Linked DNA regions of Homo sapiens: all the other regions are linked to region 2. Evidence: promoter capture Hi-C in 16 types of primary human blood cells and fetal thymus (Javierre and others, 2016). All regions are on one chromosome and are shown on one strand. The core of a region is centred on a gene start or on the middle of the fragment in contact, and the rest is flanking DNA. Distances in the headings are between cores, read along the strand shown. Region 1 has its middle 35 kb from the start of YY1AP1. Region 2 holds the start of MTX1 (metaxin 1). Region 3 holds the start of YY1AP1 (YY1 associated protein 1). Region 4 holds the start of MSTO1 (misato mitochondrial distribution and morphology regulator 1).

Region 1 (2,860 bases), core at 243-2,742, 450 kb before region 2:
AGGCTCTCAGCCAGCCTCCCGCTCTTAGCATCCTAGACCTCACTAAGCCCTTGTATGTAGCAGAAGGGAAAGGCATAGCCATGGGAGTGCCAACTGCCTACTTCTCAAAGAAATTGGACACGGTGGCCAAGCTGCTTGCCGTCGATGGCAGACACTGCTATTTTAGTGGAAGAAGCCGCTAAAATCACCCTGGGTCAGCCACTGGAAGTATTAACCCCACATCAAGTCAATCCTAGAAATAAAAGGACACAACTGTATGATGGGGGAAAGGTTAACCAAATACCAGGCTATGCTCCTGGAAAATCTAGATGTGACCCTTAAAACCTGTAACACTGTGAATCCAGCTTGATTGCTGCCCACAGGCCCAATAATTAATCATTCCTGCGAGCAAGTTATTGCACATACATATGTTAGCCAGCCTGATTTAAAAGGTTGACCTCTCCCAGATTCAGAGGATGACTGGTTCACAGACCTCAGCAGCTTTATATCAAACGGGAACACTGGGCCAGATATACAACAGTAAATTACAATACAATTATTGAGGTCCAACCCCTGCCCCCAGGTATGTCAGCACAAAAAGCTGAGATCATTGCTCTTACTCGAGTTCTGACATTAGGAAAAGGGAAAAAGCTTAACATCTATACAGATTCCAAACATGCATTTCTCGTGTTTCATGCTCATGCTGCAATTTGAAAAGAAAGAGAAAGAGGACTACTAACTAGTAAATCTTCCACCATAAAGCATGGGTCTGAAATTCTTCAACTGTTGGAAGCAATACACTTGCCAAAAGCATAGCCATAATTCATTGTAGGGGGCATCAAAAGAACCTAACCCCTGTAACACAAGGGCACAGAAAGGCTGATAAGCCAAAGCCGCACTGCTCAGGGTGTAATCCCGACAAATTCTAGCACTGCTTCCTTTCTATGATTCCCCAATAGAACCTGAATATCCCTGTGATGTATTCAGGGATATTCGAAGTAAAGGAGGAAGATGGACACAAACAAGGATCCTGGTGGTATATAGTATCAAAAGTGTATCTCCCTCAAACAGCCCAATGGAGAATTATAAAAATCCTGCATGACTCTTTCCATATGTGAGGAGATGCCACTCTTGCCATGATAAACAGGCTCTTCATTGGGCCTGACTTAACTTCCGTGGTTAAGCAGGTCTGTCAAACCTGTTCACTGTGAGCATTCAACAACCCCAGGAACAAAATGCCTCCTCTAATAGAACCAGTCCGGAGAAGGGGCACTTCCCCAGGGGAAGACTGGCAATTGGATTTTACCCATATGCCAGCTTGTAGGGGATACAAGTTTTTGCTAGTACTAATAGACACATTTACTGGCTTACCCTAGCAGAACAAAGAAGGCTAATGAAGTTATAAAAGTTCTCCTAAGATAAATAATCCCCAGTTTGGGTTACCCCAAAGCCTCCAAGGTGAGAGCAGTATGTCTTTCGTCTCCCAAATAACTAAAAGGGTTGCTAAGGCTCTCAGAATCTAATACTATTTACATTCAGCATGGAGACCTCAATCCTCTGGGAAAGTAGAAAGGGCTAATCAACCTCTAAAATCGGCATTAGCTAAGCTATGTCAGGAAACTTCAGAAACTTGGGTCAGCTTGCTGCCCATAGTCCTTTTAAGGATCCATAATTCCCCTAGAGCAAAAATTAATATGAGCCCATTTAAAATGTTATACAGAAGTCTTTTTTTTTTTTTTTGAGACAGAGTCTCACTCTGTTGTCCAGACTGGAGTGCAGTGGCACAGTCTTGGCTTACTGCAACCTCCACCTCCCAGGTTCAAGTAATTCTCCTGCCTCAGCCTCCCAAGTAGCTGGCATTACAGGTGTGAGCCACCACACCCCGCTAATTTTTGTATTTTTAGTATAGATGGGGTTTCACTATGTTGGCCAGGCTGGTCTTGAACTCATGACCTCAAGTGATCCACCCACCTTGGCCTCCCAAAGTGCTGGGATTATAAGAATGAGCCACTGCACCTGGCTGGGAAGGCCATTTTTAATGGATGATCTAATTACTGATCCAGAAATAGCCAGTTTAGTAAAATACGTAATTAACCGGAGACAATTTCAGCAGGCATTTCAAAAGTTTGGAACTCAAAGGTTCTCTGCATTGGGAACTAACCAGCAACCCAAGATCAGGCCAGGAGAGAAAAGTATTTGTTAAAACACAGAAAGAGGGGTCACCTGCTCAACAACTCCAACCCAAATGGAAGGGACTTTTTCAGTGGTGTTGGCCACGCCTTCTGTAGTCAAAGTACCAGGATTAGAAGTTGGATACGTCTTTCTAGGGTCAAGCCTGCAATACCTGAAGCCCCAGACCTGTAACTTGAAGCTTCCGTCAGCCACTATACCTGTGAACCTGTGGAAGACCTGAAGTACCTGTTTTAAAGACAGTCAAAAGATAAGTGAATGCCTACCAACTCTCCTTGGTGTCTATGCTGCATAGTTACTGTAGGTTTGATAATAGTAGCAGTTTTTATATTTTTATAATTTATTGCCTTCTTCCAAATGGATGGAATCATTTCCTTTGTAATAATTAAGCAAAATGTTTTACTTCATTTTTGTAACATTATTCCTGAGAGGATAGGTATACACCCCCTGAAGTTCCCATTCAAAAGAACAAAATAACAGATAAGTATTTTTAGTCCCATAATGGTTAGCCCTGGCCTGTGTATACTGGGACCAGGCATACTGGGAATCAGCTTAATTTTACAGCAGGGTTTTATTTTACTTCTCTGGCAATTAATGGATTCTGGGTATTTATTAAGACTTTAAAATTTAACCCAAAGACTGTTAAATACCACCAGTCCAGCTCTGGCAAAGGACTGTTGGCTTTGTTCAT
Region 2 (2,908 bases), core at 249-2,748:
TTTTACAAATGGACAACACAGGGCTCAGAGAGATTCCGGACATGTCTGTGATTACAGGACAGCCAGGAAAATCCTTTCCTCTATCTCCTCTCTTGCCATCTACCTGGTGAACATCTATCCTCAGAAGCTTTTCCTAACCAGTATCCCTCTTCTTGGAAGCACTGATAATGCCCTTCTCTTTGGCAGTATCTGTGGTCTGTTCCTACTTTAACTTATATGTGAATATTTTATTATATTTATTTGCTTACCTATCTGCCTTTCTGTAAACTCGAAGGGAGGAACCAAATTTTATTCATCTTTGCCTGGCAATGTTTAATATTTGGAAGAAATCTAATAGATCCTCTTTAAAGCAAGGAGTCAATGAATAAATGAAGCAAAGGAAGTCTGATTGCTAAGCTCTTTATACAAAGCCTGGCTGTGAGTCGTTTGGTCTAACAAACAATAGCCTCAGTAAATGCTGTTAAGTGAGGAGGAAGAGGAGAAGGGGGCTGAGGAGAAGGCAGGAATTCCAAGCTAGAGTAGGTCCCTGAGACAGTCCAGCCTAGTAAACCTCCGAATGGAGAAAAAAAATGCCCAAAGAGAAAGGATCTCCGCAAGGTCACACAGCCAGTGAATGGATGAGCAAGGACTAGAACCCATCACCTGAACTCCCAACCAGGCGTCTTTTCATTGCTGCATTAAGCCTAGAAAACTACAGCATAGGGCACTGAGGCCATATCGGCCACGTACGCTCTTTGACTGCCTCAGTTTCCCCCACTGCGCCCGTGCTGAGTAGCCCTGGCAAGGTTTGGATGCTTGGCTAGTTCGGCCCCCTCCCCAGTCATCAGGGCACAGCAGAGGGCGCCGGCGCCACCCCTCACCAGCACGGCCAGGCTGTCCAGGTCCACTGACGGCAGCCCCCAGCCCCCTGACCAGCAGAACAGCTCCATGGGCGCCGCCATCTTGCCCACCCTCTGTCCCGGAAACACTTCCTTGTGTGCTTCTGCCCTCCCCTGCCTGGGCCCGCCCCCCGCCACCGCCCCTCCGATCGTTGCGGTCAGGGGGCCTGGGGAGATCCCCGGGGAGGCGAGGCTTCTTCTGGCCCGACTGGCAGCTGAACTGCGGGGGACTGGGCCGCGGGCCTCGGGGGAGGGCGGCCGCCGGCCCATCCAGAGGTGGCCCACGTAGCGGGACAGCGCTGTCGGCCCGGCGCGCCTCGGAGAGTCACGGCGCCTCGTCCAAGTGGAGCCCCGAACCCCTGAAGGCGCGGCAGGCTCTGGAGAGCGGGGTCTTGTGCGCCTGGGCCAGGTCTGGGGGCTCTTGCCAAACTGCACGTGGCCTGTACTGCTCCAGGGCCCCTTGGGGCTCGTCCCCGAGCGGGGACTGCGGGGGGGTCCCCCGAGCAGCATGTTTTCCACAGCGCGTTATGTTTGGAGCGGGCCCTGCGCCGCCTGTCGCCATGGAAACAAAACAGGGGCGGTGGCGGCGGCCGGAGCGGAGGCCGGGCTGGGGCTTGGGTGGGGGAGGGGAAGAGAGGCTCGCAGGCTGTCGCTTAGGTGACGGGAACTCAGGCGCCCCTCTGCTTCATCCGGGTCACGGCCCGTCCGCTAGTACCCACAGTGTTCCACAGTCTGGTCCTTGGCTCCTCGCCTGTACCCCTGGTCTTCTGCGCCTGTCCCTGGTGTCCCTTTCCTCTTTTTTGGTTTCTTCACTCTGACCTCACTGACCACTGCTTTAGATTCTCCCTTCAGTTCCCGTCAGACGCTTCCAGACTCCCAAGCTTTCCTACGAATGAGGGAAAATGGAGAAACAGGCACTTGTCAGGGGACCCCCCACCCTAATAAAGAGCACTTGCTCCGCCAGAACAGCAAAATTCATGCCATGTGGGCATCCCTGGGCACTATAGCAAGCTAGTTGCGGCCACTCCCTTGGCATCCTTTCCTGCCAGCTGTGGAATAATGCCCACTGTCTAGCACTGCCCCTGCCAGGGGTTCTTGCCTTCCACAATCGTGGCTTCCAGAAAACAGTGGCATTCGGTAGCGCTGTGTGCCGAGACCCCCAACAATGATGACTGCGGAGAGGGAGGCACCTGGGGGAGGATCATTAGGGAGAGGTAGAAAGCAGGGAGGCCTCCAGGATTCTTTCCCAGTGCCCCTGGTTCCCAGAGCTGATGATGCCTCCAGGGTGATTGGCAGCTCTTTGTTTCAGCCCCCCCTCACCCGCCTGCTGGCCCCCCCTCCAATTCTGTCCCTCCGCCCCCCGGCTCCTGCTCTCTCCGCCTAGCCTTTTCCCCTCCCAGCTGCCTGCCTGCCAGGGGTAGTGAGCCGGCTGAGAGGCATGGAGACGCAGGAACTTCGGGGGGCCCTGGCTCTTCTCCTCCTTTGCTTTTTCACATCTGCCAGTCAGGATCTGCAGGGTAAGCCTGTCTCCATCCTCTTAGACCGCTCTCTGCTTCTTCCCCATTTGCCCTCAGCCCAAGTAGCAGAGAACATGTGGGCAAGGGGAGAGGGGAAGAGTCCAGAAATTGAGCCAGAGGAAAACTTAAGACTGCCTAGAGTTGGTGAAATTATGGCCTGGTGGAGAGGAGTGGGCACCGGAGAGTAGTGGGGGAGCTGGAACAGGACAGGGTCAGGCATGAGGCCAGGGCAGAGGACTCAGGAACTGGATGCTCAGGCTGCCTGGCTGGGGTGGTTCCTGAGCATCTGTAGGCACCCTAGGGTCTGGGAGAGCAGCCTGAAGGTGGGCGTACTGTAGGTCCCTGGGCTTCGTCCCCCTGGGCTCCTGGCTGCCCAAGGACAGGGCGGGGGTGGGGACCAAGAAGCCTGGGCTCTCCCGGAGGTCTGGTGGTGGGATGGGCCGATGGATGTGGGAGAGGTAGCTGGAGCAGATGACACAGGCATAGATTCTTTACTGGCTGGAGGGAAAACCA
Region 3 (2,903 bases), core at 370-2,869, 480 kb before region 2:
TTTTGTAGAGATGGGGTTTCACCGTGTTGCCTAAGCTGGTCTCGAACTCCTAGGCTCAAGCAATGCGCCCTCCTCCGCCTCCCAAAGTGCTGAGATTACAGGTGTGAGCCACTGCGCCCAGCCTAATGTCTTCTTTCTGTTACAGGATCCAGTAGAAGATTCCACATCTGGAGATCTTTTCCTTTCTTTATATCTATCACCGACATTACCTACTCTTTAAAAATTTTGTAAAAGGCATAAATTTGAAAAATATATCCTCATTAATCTAAATCAAGTCATTGATACAACTATTTAACAAGACGCCCGGCCTGCTTTGTTTTATTAACGACTTGGAGGGACAGAACACTACCCATTACACCCACAAACGTTATCGACATCAACAGAACTGTAAATGACAACACGGCAATACTCTGCACCTTCCCTATGCCTAGGAGCTAATTCCACTTTACATATATTATTATTTCGTGTGTGTGTGTGTGTGTGTGACGGAGTCTCGCTTTGTCGCCAGGCTGGAGTGCAGTGGCGCGATCTCGGCTCACTGCAACTTCCGCCGCCCGGGTTCAAGCAATTCTCCTGCCTCAGCCTCCCGAGTAGCTGGGGCTACAGGCGCCCGCCACCACGGCCGGCTAATATTTGTATTTTTAGTAGAGACGGGGTTTCACCATGTTGGCCAGGATTGTCTCGATCTCTTCACCTTGTCATCCACCTGCCTCGGCCTCCCAAAGTGCTGGGATTACAGGCGTGAGCCACCGCGCCCAGCCCTATCTTATTATTTCACACACCAACCCTGGAGGCATGTTTGGAGTTGCCTAATTTTTATGTACACTTTTTGATAAGGAACTAACAAAAATAACTTGCTGAAGACAAGGGAAACTGAGTCCAGAACTGAATGAGAAGCACATGGTTTCTTCATCCTCCATCACCAGGCTGTCTAACGAGGCTGAAGTACCATCCATGAGTAAGTGCGTCAAGGGCAAACAAACATCATCGCATATGGACAGTGGTGTGAAATTCGAGAAATCCGAGGAGGGTTAACAACAACAAAAAGCACACCACCACGCCGAACTTCCTCGGGTCCCAGGTTGGCAACTCAACGCCCGGGAGGAATCCCCCCCGGAGGCGCGCCGGTCTACCGGCCTCACTCCCTACCTCCTGGAGGTCCGGAGTCCCGCTCCTTTCCCTCAGCGGTACAATACCCGTGTCGGTCCATTCCCTCACCGTGAGTCGAGGACTAGTTCTCCAGACTAGGCGACCGACACACGCTGCCTGGGGCCGGCTCCAAAGCGCCCGTCCTGAGACTGCAAAAAAGGGTCGGGTCATCCGGCAGGAAACGACTCAACGCGCAGCCGCCGCGGCCTCCAACCACCGGCCGGCAGAGGGGCGCTAGGCCGCCCTCGATCCCCTCGCCGCGGTCCCATGGAGGAGGAGGCGAGCCGCAGCGCCGCGGCGACGAACCCAGGGAGGTAGGTTGTCATGGGACTCGGCCGGCCACCCTGGCAATTCCAGTCAAACGGCAAGCCAGACTCGCTTTGCCGGTCCCTTCCTCTCCTGCCCCTGCAGCCGCCAGGAATGGAACAGTCCCGCGGTGGGGACTGTGGGAGGCGCACGCGCGAGGAGTGTAGGGTGGGGGTGCTGGCGGCGGCTGCTTTGGCGGCGGTTGGTGGCCGTGCGGGCGGGGAGGGAGGGGGAGGAGAGAAGAGGAGGTGGAGAAGGCTTGGGCTCGCGCCGCTGAAGGTACGCGTGAGGGCCTGCGCTGGAGCCGGCTTGACAGGGTCTGAGGGGGAGTGGAGAACTGGGCGAGGAGGTTCCCGTGGGTGAGCGCGTACGGGATGGCTGGCTCGCAGGACGGCCGAAGGTGGTGGTTGGTGGGAGCAGCCAGCGACGAGCCCGTAGACACTCGTACGCGTGCGGGCTGACGTGCGCGCTACATGGCCGGAGTCGGGCGAAGCGGGGGACCGTGGGGAAGAACGCGAGGAGGGAGGAGTGGGAGGTTGGGGGTGTCGCTAGGCGCCCTTAGCTCCCTCCCTCTGGAGGAGCTGCCGCGGCCACTCTGCTGCCGCCGCTGCCGCCGCCATTTTGGGTTCGCTTTGCGAGGGGAAACGATCCCAGTGTCGGTTGCGGGATCCGCCTCCTCTCAGTTTGCCCCTTTAGCCCTCCACCTTTCCCTTCTCCTCTCTCGCATTTCCGCCAGTCGGCTTACCCGCTGGCCGCCTCCTGACAAGCGGGAGGGATCCGCGGTGGACCCAGGGAAGCGGAGGAGCCTGGCGGCCACCCCCTCTTCCTCACTTCCCTGTACTCTCATCGCTCTCGGCCTCCGACACGGTGAGTAGAACGATTTGGGCCGGCATTCGGGCCTAAGCACTCTCTCAGCGATTGAATCCTGGGCTTTCTGGGAGCCACTGTCATCTCCCGGACCTGGACCTCTGGGAGAGCAGTGGTGAAGATGGGGGAGGGGAGAGCAGGGAGGGGGATCCTGAGCCTACCGGGAAGTCCCTCCAGGCGGGGTGAAGGGGTGTCCCTGACAGGCAGACTCCCGGAGGGGGCTGGGAAGTAAGCGAGTGGAGGCGGAGTCGGCTGTGCCCCTGACAGGTTAGTTTGTGTTTGTAGGCATGATCGGAGCCTCCCCCATAGTCCAGTTTGTGTGTGTTTAATTAAGGGATAAGAGTGGTCGAGGACACGATCTTGAGAGGGGATTTTACCTGTGTGACAAGGTCTGTGGTGTCCCTGCCGCGTTGAACGGTATGTGGGAACGACAGGATGATCTCAGTGTTGTACGTTTAATAAATGTCACTGGTTAGTTTGTACATGGAAAGAGATGTTTTTGGTCTAGCAGACAGATGGTCTGTTGGTGTGTAGCGGCTGTGTTGGTGTGTGTATGTGAGGATGGCAAGTGTTTCCGTAAG
Region 4 (2,943 bases), core at 325-2,824, 400 kb before region 2:
CACCCTTCCCCTCTAGCTAACCTTCCTCTGATCACCTGACAACCTGCTGTCACCATCTCTCCAGCACTTGGCTCTTCCAAGCTTTCTGGGATATACACTAGTTGGGGGAAAAACCTTGGCTTAGGAGAATCTAGATTCCATCTTTCGGTTCCCAGCTTAGTCATTAGCTGTGGGACGCGGGGGGAACCACATCCAGGGGTCTGACAGGAGTGCTGCAGTTCAAGTCCTCACTGTCTCCAGGGCCTAGCAGCCTATTCCCGAAATGGCTCTTGAGCAACTGTCGTGGGCCCCTCGAGTGTTGGCATGTTGTGCTCAGCTCCTCATCTCCGGTCCTGGAGCTCGGTAAGGTGGGAGGGTCTTGAAGATAACGGCAGCGCAAGGACTAGGCACGCGGAAGGGAAATAAGGGGCATCGGCTAACTCTGCCACCACCTCACCCTTCAGATCCATGAGGATGAGTCGCGGCGTGTAGGTCTCCTGGCCGTGCAGCGTCCGGCCCGTACGATACAGGACGTCGGGGCACAGCTCTCCCGGGGGCTCCTTGGAATCGGTCGCTCGGCCCAGCGCAGCATCCTGGGGAAGCAGAGAGGACGAGGCAGGCCGGCTGAACGTCGGGACTGTAGATCCCGAAGGGCTCCTCGGGGGCAGCTGCCGGCTGACCTCACCTGCTGGTTCCACCAGTGCGCGCCCACGAAACCGGCAAAATGTCCCAACTGCAGTGTGAGCACCTCCCGGGCCCCGCCCGCCATACTGCGCTGCTCCACGGGGCCGCCGCGCCTCAGCCGCGCCGCTCGCTGCTCCTAGCCGATTGGCTTGGCAGGCGCGTGGGCGGGTGTTATTCTCGGCTACTTATTGGCCCGCAAACACATCCTTTCCCATTGGAGAAACGATGCGCCGATCCCTTCCTACCTCTTCCTAGACGTGGCCCAGTCCGGCTTCTCTGTGGTTGCCTGTGAGGGGCGGGGCTCCACGGGCCACGCCGTTGCTCCTGCTCCACGTTGGAGCGGGGTGGGCGCCGTCTCCGCCGCTGACTTGGGGCCGCCAGGGCGCGGGCCGTGGAAGGCTCTGCTTCCTACTTGTCTTGAGGTCTTATCCCTTCTCACAGATCTCTCCGCTGGCTGATAGCTCCCCGGGCAAAAAGAAAACCTTGCCAGAAAAGCGGAAGCTCCCCTAAAGCCTCCCATGCCCCTTCATCTCTTCAGAAGTCACGTGGACCACGACTAATAACCTGTGGACTGGCTTAGCTATCATATCTCTATCATTTACACGTATTTATCTATCTCTGTGTATCTAACACCTTATGTAAAGAGAGTATGTATCTGTTGGCGTCTTTTGCTCAATATGGTTTATGTAATTCATATTTTTGCAAATATCTATAATTCATTTTCATCACTGCGGAATAGTCCATTGTATGAATACGCCACCACTGATCTATTCTAAAGAAAGAATAGGCTGGGCGCGGTGGTTCACGCCTGTAATCCCAGCACTTTGGGAGGCTGAGGCGGGCAGATCACGAGGTCAAGAGATCGAGACCATCCTGGCTAACACGGTGAAACCCCATCTCTACTAAAAATACAAAAAAAAATTAGCTGGGCGTGGTGGCGGGCGCCTGTAGTCCCAGCTACTCGGGAGGCTGAGGCAGGCGAATGGCGTGAACCCGGGAGGCGGAGCTTGCAGTGAGCCGAGATCACGCCAATGCACTCCATCCTGGGCGACAGAGCGAGACTCTGTCTCAAAAAAAAAAAAAAAAAAAATATATATATATATATATATATATATACTGCTGATAATAGCTTTTGGGATTGTTTCCAATTTTTGGGCTATTAGGTGCTATGATTAACATTCTTGTGTGTATTTAGAAACAAGGCAAGGGCCGGGTGCGGTAGTTTACGCCTGTAATCCCAACACTTTGGGAGGCCGAGGCAGGAGGATCAACTGAGGTCAGGAGGTTGAGACCAGCCTGGCTAACATGATGAAACCCCGGTCTCTACTAAAAATACAAAACATGTAGCCGGGCGTGGTGGCGGGCCCTTGTACTCCCAGCTGCTCAGGAGGCTGAGTCAGGGAATCATTTGAACCTGGGAGGTGGAAGTTGCAGTGAGCCGATATCACGCCACTGCACTCCAGCCTGGGAAACAAGAGCAAAACTCCTCTCTAAAAAATAAAAAATAAAAAAATAAAAATAAAAATAAAAAAGGCCGGGCGCCGCGGTTCAAGCCTGTAATCCCAGCACTTTGGGAGGCCGAGGCGGGTGGATCACGAGGTCAGGAGATCGAGACCATCCTGGCTAACACGGTGAAACCCCGTCTCTACTAAAAATACTAACAATTAGCCGGGCGTGGTGACGGGCGCGACCTGTAGTCCCAGCTACTTGGGAGGCGGAGGCAGGACAATGGCGTGAACCCGGGAGGCGGAGCTTGCGGTGAGCCGAGATCGCGCCACTGCACTCCACCTTGGGCAACAGAGCCAGACTCCATCTCAAAAAAAAAAAAAAAAAAAAAGAGATAAGGCAAATATTGGTTGGGCGCAGAGGCTCACGCCTGTATTCCCACGTTTTGGTGAGGCTGAGGCAGGAAGATCGCTTGAGTCCAGAAATTCGAGAATGTGAGGGTAGACTGGACAATGTAGTGAGACTCCCCCTCCCCCTATCCTCTCTATAAAAGAATTTTTCAAAAAATTAGCTAGGCAGCCCACATCTGTAGTCCTAACCAGAGGCTAGGGTGAGAGGATCGCTTCAGCGCAGGAATTAGAGGCTGCGGTGAACCATGATTGGAGCACTGCACTGCAGCCAGAGACAGAGGGAGACCCTGTCTCAAAATTTTAAAAAGTGACAAAATGTTAATTGAATCTAGGTGAAGATTATAGGTGTTCTTTTGCAGTACTCTCTGAGCATTCTTGTAGGTTTGAAATTTTTTCAAGAAATAAAGGTTAGATGCTCTTATCT

The links. Contacts are between HindIII fragments. The CHiCAGO score rates a contact against its expected background, and 5 or more counts as called.
Region 1: a fragment that was not itself captured here is called in contact with the fragment with the promoter of MTX1 in region 2 in 1 of 17 cell types (endothelial precursors); the score reaches 5.9 in endothelial precursors.
Region 3: a contact is called between the fragment with the promoter of YY1AP1 here and the fragment with the promoter of MTX1 in region 2, in 1 of 17 cell types (endothelial precursors). The highest score is 7.1, in endothelial precursors.
Region 4: a contact is called between a fragment that was not itself captured here and the fragment with the promoter of MTX1 in region 2, in 2 of 17 cell types (endothelial precursors and fetal thymus). The highest score is 10.4, in endothelial precursors.

The regions. Positions count from the first base shown.
Region 1 is chr1:155,652,638-155,655,497 of GRCh38, reverse strand. No RefSeq gene overlaps it. Among named protein-coding and RNA genes, the nearest start is that of YY1AP1, 35 kb to the left of the region's middle. The HindIII fragment of the contact is 1,720 bases long and covers 633-2,352 here.
Region 2 is chr1:155,207,285-155,210,192 of GRCh38, reverse strand. MTX1 (metaxin 1) reads right to left here and starts at 1,498. Exons shown (of 8, transcript NM_002455.5): 1 at 861-1,498. The coding sequence starts at 1,388. It overlaps THBS3 (thrombospondin 3), which reads left to right and starts at 2,296. Exons shown (of 23, transcript NM_007112.5): 1 at 2,296-2,395. The coding sequence starts at 2,317. RefSeq lists a silencer at 949-1,148 and an enhancer at 2,512-2,908. The HindIII fragment of the contact is 1,632 bases long and covers 130-1,761 here.
Region 3 is chr1:155,687,490-155,690,392 of GRCh38, reverse strand. YY1AP1 (YY1 associated protein 1) reads left to right here and starts at 1,619. Exons shown (of 11, transcript NM_139119.3): 1 at 1,619-1,734; 2 at 2,192-2,322. DAP3 (death associated protein 3) reads right to left here and starts at 1,302. Exons shown (of 13, transcript NM_004632.4): 1 at 1,219-1,302. It also overlaps the pseudogene LOC124904430. RefSeq lists enhancers at 1,154-1,203, 1,579-2,213 and a silencer at 1,694-1,743. The HindIII fragment of the contact is 12,603 bases long and covers 1-2,903 here.
Region 4 is chr1:155,608,054-155,610,996 of GRCh38, reverse strand. MSTO1 (misato mitochondrial distribution and morphology regulator 1) reads right to left here and starts at 779. Exons shown (of 14, transcript NM_018116.4): 1 at 665-779; 2 at 437-572. The coding sequence starts at 748. LOC105371452 (a long non-coding RNA gene) reads left to right here. Exons shown (of 2, transcript XR_922171.2): 2 at 1,105-1,388. RefSeq lists enhancers at 43-917, 918-1,792. The HindIII fragment of the contact is 2,982 bases long and covers 84-2,943 here.